Linked DNA regions of Homo sapiens: region 1 is linked to region 2. Evidence: promoter capture Hi-C in 16 types of primary human blood cells and fetal thymus (Javierre and others, 2016). All regions are on one chromosome and are shown on one strand. Each heading gives the region's core, a stretch centred on a gene start or on the middle of the fragment in contact. The rest is flanking DNA. Distances are from core to core; before and after follow the strand shown.

Region 1 (4,401 bases), core at 1,695-4,194, 510 kb before region 2:
TGGCAGTTTTCTTTTGTTTTCGTTTTTTAGAGATAGGGTCTTGCTCTGGTACCTAGGCTGGGGTACAGTGGTGTGATCACTACTCGCTTCAACTGTAACCTCGAACTCCTAGGCTCAAGAGATCCTCCCGACTTGGCCTCCTAAAGCACTGAGGTTACAGGTGTGAGCCTAAATATGTCAGTTTTTTATAATTTTTTTCTTTTATAATTACTCTCTGTCTTCCAAATCCTAGATGGAAAAACTCAAAGCATGAAGGTATTGAGTAACTTTCTCAGGATCATAGAAGGAAGAGAAGTGAGTGCTGAATTGGACAGCCAGAGGCCTCCCAGATGCTTTCCTGAACACCATCTCCAGGTATCTGAAATAATGGAGACCCTGAATACACTTGAATATGCCACTACTCCCTGGCTCTGCAGCTTTGTGAGAGCTTCTTTAAGAATATTATTTTATACATCTTCCTCTTACTTCACCTAAACCTTCCCATCTGCCCCCACTACTGGTCAGTCTCTTCAGCTATTTGGGAATAGCTGTGAAAGGAGGGGGCTGGGCAAGCTTGTCTCTACAAAGGACATCCAACTCAAGCAATCTGAGATCTTCAGAGTTACTTCTTAGGACCAAGGGACAATGAGGTCCACTGGTAGAATCCCTATGATCTATAGATTTCTATTCCCTTGAATTTGACCTTTCAGAGTCTCCATGCTTTACTGATATCTATATGTGTGAGGTAGAGGTGAAATCTGTACAGCTAGAAGTAAGCTGGGCATTTCTATAAGATATAAAAGCAATGGTTTCATTCACTCAAATCAGACTTAAGGATGTATCCCTATGGGCAGGAAACCCAATTCTAAGAAACTTACAAAATATAATCTCTTTAGAAGTTGAACTTTTAGTGTTTAGAGAAAAAAAAAAGCCATAATCTTTAAAACTGACATTCCAAAATAAAAATATTACCTACATTTCTTAGTATTTCTCTTTCTTTCATGTATACAATAAATTTACACATATACAATGGAAAATTATCAAATCATTATTAATAGGAAAGTGTATTACCAGTGGCCACTGGTAAGAATATTTGTTACAGGCCGGGCACAGTGGCTCACGCCTGTAATTCCAGCACTCTGGGAGGCTAAGGTGGGCGGATCACCTGAGGTCAGGAGTTCAAGACCAGCCTGGCAAACATGGTGAAGCCCCGTCTCTACTAAAAATACAAAAATTAGCCAGGCATGGTGGCAGGTGCCTGTAATCCCAGCTACTCGGGAGGCTTAGGCAGGAGAATTGCTCGAACCTGGGACGTGGACATCCCAGTAAGTGGGCCGAGATTGCGCCATTGCACTCTGGCCTGGGTGACGAGCAAAACTCTCTCTCCAAAAAAAAAAAAAAAAAAAAAGGTTTGCTTTCCCCTGGCAAATCTAAGTTTGGCTTATATTCATTGGTTAAGTGAGTCAAACCAACTCATAAGGTTTCATTAAATTTGAATGAGTTTTCTTCCCTCCCCTGAAAAAAATCACGAGCTCTTCCAGAAAATGACTGGAGTGAAGCTGGTCCTGAACTCGAGGCTGTGGAAAGCGCTCATGGAAAAGTAAGTGCATGCAGCCGGCTGTGGGCTCTGCCAGCTCCTCCTCATGCTTCTGGCTGTTGGTCTGAACTGCAGGCAAACAAACTTGCTTTTGCAAGAATGAATGGCTCAAAGATGCACCACCCACATTTGTGTTCTTGCCTTGCTTCTTAAGCAAGTTATTCTATTTGAATCTATCCCTTCTTGAAGCTCTACCTCAAGAAATAAAGTCAGAGGGAAAGAATCATTAGAAGACCTTTTCTAGGCTAGTCAACCATCTCTTTTATCCTTAAAAGACAGAAAGGCTCAACCTTAGGCAGTTAAAACAAAAAGTAAGCAAAGTAAAAAAAACATCATACTTGGTAAGCAGAAACATCTCCCAAATTACCTCCACTTGAGGTATGGAATTTTAATTAAAGAACTTAGCACATTCTATTTGCTGAGCAGAAATTATTTCTAAAGAGCCAAAACACATTTATTGATTTCTTCACTTTAGCCTATTCCCACAGATAAATATCTCTCCAAATATAAATCCTGCTTGCTGACAAAGAACATACCCTTGCTTCAGCACATGCAATCAATTTGAATGCAGCCATCTCATCTCCCTTTTAACTCTTTTGGGTTACAGAGAAACAAACAAAAGTGTCATAAAAGCATTTCAAAGAACCTCTGCCAAGAAAGCCACCTCCCAAACAGACTGCAGTTTATGCTGCTCTGAGCAAGAACTGGAAAGGCTGGGCCAAATTGTCAACACAGAACAAAGTTGGATTACAAACCCTGTCTTTCATCTTGCAAACACACACACACACACACACACACACACACACACACACACACACACACACTTGGATTATCTTTATTTAGTCTTTCAGTGGCAAGCTTCCCAATCACTCGAAAGCAATCAAAGGGCAATAATTAACATGCATTTACTCTCCCATAGAACACATCCACAGCAAGCTGTGACAAAGCTAAGGTAACCATGCATGTGTGTGTTCCAGTTTATTCCCTTTTACAGTTTCATGGCATTGTGCCTTGGACATGAGGCCTATCATTAAGGAATGTTTAGCTGTTACCTCTGCTCTTACATTTAAAAGATTTGGAATACCCAACTTTTTACTTAGAGAGAGACCTAAGATACTCTCTCTCCAGTGGCATTTTTACACACATACACCCACCTACCCAGAGATAAAACAAAGCTGGGAAGAATCTGTTGGTCCAAAATGAGAAATTGAGTCCTTGCATGGCTCAGGTGCTTGCTATTATAAACTATGACTAAGAGACATGAATTTCTCTATGATGCAACTCTCAAGAGAGGCAGCATTTTCTCCAGGCCTCTCTTAAACCTGCTCATTCGCCAGTGACTAATGCTCTCTAGAGCAGCCCTGTGCTGCTCAAATTTCATCAGCCGGCTTTGTCCTTCATAACTCTGCCTAGACCATAAAAGCTCCCAAACCTGTTGAGGACAGCCCCAAAAGATCAGTGCAAAGTAACCATGCCCCTGCCAGTGTTGAAAGCCATCTTTTGAGCTTCCCACTGCATTTTCTCTCTAGTAATGAGCACTTAGTGGCCATTTTAAGAAAAAGTTTCTCTTCTCTGAAGAGAAAAGCCACAGCAACTACACGAAAAGTAAGAGTAAATCAGGCCACTCTGTGACCACCCCTTGTCAGCTTAGGGGTAGAGACAAAATTGACAACATGTTGGATGAAGCCAAAGTTAACTGGAGTTTTCCATTAACTATTTTCTGCACCTTTAAGAAAAAGAGAAATATCAGGTTCATGATTCACATCAAGGACTTAATTTATAAAACAAACCCCAAAAAAGCCATAAAACAATGTGTGATTAATAGATGCTTGGCCTAACACCAAATATATTTTGTCAGTTAATTTATAATTTTGAGCTTAAAGCTTTGCAATATTCTTTTTTTTTTTTTTTTTGAGATGGAGTCTTGCTCTGTTGCCCAGGCTGGAGTGCAGTGATGCGATCTCAGCTCACTGCAACCTCCGCCTTCTGGATTTAAGTGATTCTCCTGCCTCAGCCTCCTGAGTAGCTTGGATTACAGGCGCCCACCACCACACCTGGCTAATTTTTGTATTTTTAGTAGAGACGGGGTTTCACCATATTGGCCAGGCTGGTCTTGAATGCCTGACCTCAAGTGATCCACCTGCCTCAGCCTCCCAAAGCCCTGGGATTATAGGTGTGAGCCACTGTGCCCAGTCAGCTTTACAATATTCTTAAGGTAAAAAGAAATTTAGGATAAAATTATGTTCAGTAAATCTTACCTGCAATACAGTAGAAATACTTTAGAAATAATTTTATTATGAAATAAAAGTTTTCAGGGTTAATTCTGAATTATTAGAAGAAACTAAATGCATACTACTGTCTAAATCTGGCCATAGCTGAAAAAAGCATATTCTAGACATGGATGATCTAAGACCAAACAATTTCAGAACAAATGTGCCATCACCAGAAAGGTACTTACGGTTATCAGACTGAAAATCTGGGACAAACTGTTCATCATCAGGAACTTGTGCTGGAAAATAGATTTTTATTTTAGACCTTTAAGTTTTATTAAAAAGCACAGTAAAATGTTTTATATGGAAAATAGGACATCCATGAAACTTGCCTTCAGCTAACCAAGCCTCTTGAAGTTGACTGAGATCCTGAAATAGCTCTGAAATTGAAAAAGAAGACCCCAGAATGAGGATATTTCTTTCGCTAGGGAGAAGACAGGGAAGAATCTACACGCTACTGTCACTGGGAGCAGGGAAGCCACAACATAATCAGGGAAAGCTTTACTACCTTCAGAATCGTGAGCCAGATCTGTGTCCAAAAACTTCCTCTTTCTG
Region 2 (4,813 bases), core at 2,304-4,803:
CAAATAAACCTCTTTTCTGTATAAATTACCCAGCCTCAGGTTTTTCTTTATAGAAACACAGATGGACTAAGACAGCTGCCATCTTGAGATTTCTGCCATCAGCCACACAAGGGTTGCACCCAGCAAGCACTGCCCGGCACCCTGCTGCCATCTCCTGGAGATTGTTGATCCTCTCCTGCTCCTTAGACTGTTGGGCCTGCTCTCCTTGACCAGTTCTAACAAGCCCTTGATATCCTCAATACACTATCAGCCATCATAGTGTGAATGGAATGAGGATTATTTTATTGCTGTGATGTGAGCCTCATAGAAAAATGCACAGAAAAGTAACTAAAATAATGCAGCAAAGGACCAGAAAATGGAGGAAATGCCTATCTCCTACTGATATGCAAAGAAGCTGGAGCCAGTTGGATCAAACTGACCCAAGATTACTCATGAGTATATGTATTCAGCACGTGAAGATCACTCATGAGTCCCATATACATTTGGCAAGTGAGAATCTTTTAAAGTTTAAAACTGGTGTCATCAGGCACAGGGAACTACCCATTGGCACTAATGCTACAGCCATCTTGGAAAACATACCAAAATATCATCTATTTTCTTCCTCATTTCCAGTAAGTAAATGGCAACATTTCTTTCTAAGGAAACTGAAAAAATCTAAGGGATCATTTTACTCAGCTTGATACCAAAGTTATTTTAGTTTATAAGTATTAGACATATGGAGTAGCTGTGATAAAAGCAAAGATATTCATAAATTACATTTTTAAAAAAGAATTCTGAGAGTGTTCACATATCTAAGTTCCCACAAAAGTCAGCATGAAAGCAGTAACAGAGGAAAAGAGAAAACAGCTGAGCTGACATCACACAACAGCTAAATGGAAGGGGGATAAATTGGCATAGCCAAATAGACTATTTGACTATAAAAATTAAGAGCTTTAAAAATGTGCAAATCATTAGAATCAATAATTTTACTTCTAAAAATCTATCCTGAAAAAAAGAATCAAAAGCCAAAGATTCCTAAATAAAAAAGTGTGTTTTTTTGTTTTTTTGTTTTTTGTTTTTTTTTTGTTTTTTTTTGTTTTTTGTTTTGAGACAGAGTCTCACTCTGTTGCCCAAGCTGGAGTGCAGTGGCACAATCTCCCCTCACTGCAACCTCTGCCTCCCAGGTTCAAGTGATTCTCCTGCCTCAGCCTCCCAAGTAGCTGAGATTACAGGCGTCCAGCACCACGCCCAGCCAATTTTTTGTATTTTTAGTAGAGATGGGGTTTCACCATGTTGGCCAGGATGCTCTCTATCTGTTGACCTCATGATCCACCTGCCTTGGCCTCCCAAAGTGCTGGGATTACAGGTGTAAGCCACCGTGCCTGGCCTGTAAACATGTTTTTAAGTCTACTTAATGACATAGGAAAATATTCAAGTTAAAGCAATAGGTGAAAAAATTTTAACAGCTGTATATGCAGTATAATCAAAATTATATTAAAATATTATTTTACATAGAAAAAAAGAAAAGATATAAATGCATCAAAACATTAACACTGTTTATCTCTGCATGATGAGATTGTGAATGATTTCTTTTTTGAGACAGAGTCTCATTCTGTTGGCTGGGCTGGAGTGCAGTGGCACTATCATAGCTCACTGCAACCATAGCCTACTCCAGGTCTTATGCTATCATCCTGCCTTCATAGTTGGGATTACAGGTGTGTGCCACCTTACCACACTTTATTCAATTTTTCTTTTTTTTGAGTCGGAGTCCCACTCCGTTGCCAGGCTGGAGTGCAGTGGCGCAATCTTGGCTCACTGCAACCTCCACCTCCTGGGTTCAAGTGATTCTCCTGTCTCGGCCTCCCGAGTAGGTGGGACTACAGGCGCGCGCCACCACGCCCAGCTAATTTTTGTATTTTTAGAAGAGACAGGGTTTCACTGTGTTGGTCAGGTTGGGCTCAATCTCTAGGCCTCGTGATCTGCCCACCTCAGCCTCCCAAAGTGCTGGAATTACAGGTGTGAACCACCGTGCCCAGCCCTTCAATATTTTTAAAGATTATATAAAGAAAAGCATAGCTTCCACACACAGTTCAGGAGTCAGGGCCCTGAGTGAAATGGAGTATAAGGTGATGGAAGATTGCCCCTGGCTTTGAGGATCATCTTGCTGGATGACCAGAGTTTGTTTTTCATCTGGAAGAATCATGGTCCCCCTCTTGGAGAGAACCTGGAGTCCTGGCCACACCTTCTGAGCTTCTGACATTAAGATTCGGTGTGGTGTGTGAGCAGCTGGGAGTAAATGTGAGAACAGTCCTGCCAACTACCTTCTCTGCCCCATCACCACTCACTTCACCTCCCTCACCCCGATTCTCACCCCAGAAAATCAATATTAAGCTTCCCTTTGGAGGGGCCCCTCTTCTTTCTTTTTTTTTTAACCAGTTTTTTTTTCTCTGAAGCAATATCAAACATTAGAACAAATTCACCCACACACAATGATGGCCTCTAAATATTTGAAGACCATGTTGGTCTCCATGAGAGGGCTTCTTTGCTTCAGACTAAACCAAACCAGGTCCTTGTGTGATATTTCCCAAGCCTCTCTTTATCCTGCCAACCCTCCTTGGATGTCACACTTGGAATTGTCAAGGGTCACTTAATAGGCAGTGCCTGGAGTCAACACTGGCCCTCTGTTCTGGCCAGAAAGACACACTGTAATTCTGCTGAGTCTGCAAAGAATGTTCAAGGGGTATTTGTGTCCGTAGCTGCTCGTGCAGCATCTCAGCCTGCGGTGTCAGACTCGAACCCAGAGCTGTGTCAAATGAGTCAGGACTCCCCTCTGCTGCCCTTGTGCACTGGCAGGGGCACTAGGTTACTAGTGCTAGGAGACTCTGGTCAGTGCCCATCTGTGCTGTCACATGCAGGGCCCTGGCAGTGAGGTCTGGAGAAGGAAGAGAAGGGGCAGGGAACCCCACACGTTTTGCTGGTCATTTCCCACCGTGGTCCTGCCACGGGAACCCCCTTCTTCCACCTCCATTCCCCACTTTAGGCAGAAACATCTCTCATCCTTTTTCTTTTCTCCAAGAATCTTCCCCCAAAATCTTGGCATCTCCTATACACATCTGTACCTTTGCTATATCTGTGGGCCTTGTTCTCCCTGTAGGACTCCTCTTGGAAAGCTAACTCCCCCTGACATTGGAGAATTTTATCAAATTGCTGAGTATCCTCCCTTCCCTCTCACAGACCCCATGGCATGCTCAGATCACAGTAGAAGACATTTCCTCTGCTGCCAAACCCATGGCACTCTGAGGCTGACTGTGTCCACCTCATTCCCTCAGCTGTCTTCTCTTTGCTGCTATTACCATGTTCCAAGCAGACTTTGGAGCATCTCCCCCACAGCAGCATGGACTTTGGCAGATTTCTTGGGGACCAGCGATGTCCTAACCTGTTTGCTTTTCCAGGGCTGATGTTTGCAGGGTGTTTTTTTTTTTCTTTTGAACCAAAGCAGAAATCATCCTGTATCCTTATGCAATTCTTCCGGCAGGCTCCAACAGATAAATAAAGCCCACCACCCTCCATGGGTCTACCTTTCCCAGCAGAGCACCTGGGTTGGTCCCGAAGCCTCCAACCACCTGCACGCCTGCCAGGGCCTCTCTGGGGCAGCCATGAAGTCCCTCGTCCTGCTCCTTTGTCTTGCTCAGCTCTGGGGCTGCCACTCAGCCCCACATGGCCCAGGGCTGATTTATAGACAACCGAACTGCGATGATCCAGAAACTGAGGAAGCAGCTCTGGTGGCTATAGACTACATCAATCAAAACCTTCCTTGGGGATACAAACACACCTTGAACCAGATTGATGAAGTAAAGGTGTGGCCTCAGGTAAGTGGACCTGCTGTCTATGAGCTGAAATAATGTGTACATGGAGCTCAATCAGGTGCCTCAAAAAATCACCATCACCCAGTGCAAATGAAACCACAGAGGAGTAAATTCTCTGATTTCTTCCCAGGAGTGAGGGAAGGGGCAGGCAGAGGGCAGGAGAGGAGACATTCTGTATGGCAGTCATGGGTGTCAGGAGGGAGCTGGGTGGGGTGTGAGGTGGTGTGCAGGAGAAAAAGTGCTTCAAATGGTAGTGTGCAGATCACAGACAGAAAGTGTAACTTGCTGGAAAAACTAGGACCCAAGAGACCAGCTCCTAGTTGCCAAGTTACCACTGGCTGAAAATCACGTATCTGTCTTTGGTTTGGTTTCTCTCTAACAAAGACTGAGAATGAATAAAACTAGCATCTGGCAGATGCCTACTATATGCCAGGCCCATTCACATAGATTATCTCATTTACTCTTTCCCGGTCCTGCCTCCTGGTGCTGTGTGGTACATATATTGTTCTTGTCTTACCCAAGAGGAGACCAAGGCTCTGTTGTGTGTGTGTGTGCAGTTTTTTTGTTTTTTGTTTTTGTCTTTTTTTTTTTGGTCCAAAATCATATAATTACTAAGTCTTCAGGCTGGGATTTGATTCCATATCTGTGTTCCTTCTTCTACACAAACTGCCTCCCAAAGAGAGTTACCCACATCCCAGAGAGAAGTCTTGGCATAAACACAATTCACCTCCTCACACACTAGACAGGAAACCAACGCAGCTTGAAGCCAGTGACAAGAAAAATCAAGCTGGAAATATGCCTCGGGGATCAGTCAAGAGATTTGGAGAGGTGGAAAGAAGCTGTCTGCCTACTGCCTGTTTTGAAATTAGATTTATTTCTGATTAAGGACAATTCTTTCAGCAAATATGTATTACAAGCCTTCCTTGGACAAGAACCAGAGATATTAGGTTGAACCATATAAAACTGCC

The links. The method cuts DNA at HindIII sites, captures the fragments that hold promoters and counts their contacts. A CHiCAGO score of 5 or more calls a contact.
Region 1: a fragment that was not itself captured here is called in contact with the fragment with the promoter of AHSG in region 2 in 1 of 17 cell types (activated CD4 T cells); the score reaches 5.2 in activated CD4 T cells.

Annotation. Positions count from the first base shown.
Region 1 is chr3:186,101,271-186,105,671 of GRCh38, forward strand. It overlaps ETV5 (ETS variant transcription factor 5), which reads right to left. Exons shown (of 13, transcript NM_004454.3): 3 at 4,355-4,401; 4 at 4,179-4,226; 5 at 4,035-4,085. Among named protein-coding and RNA genes, the nearest start is that of ETV5, 5.6 kb to the right of the region's middle. The HindIII fragment of the contact is 1,025 bases long and covers 2,433-3,457 here.
Region 2 is chr3:186,609,507-186,614,319 of GRCh38, forward strand. AHSG (alpha 2-HS glycoprotein) reads left to right here and starts at 3,554. Exons shown (of 7, transcript NM_001622.4): 1 at 3,554-3,848. The coding sequence starts at 3,636. The HindIII fragment of the contact is 5,898 bases long and covers 2,369-4,813 here.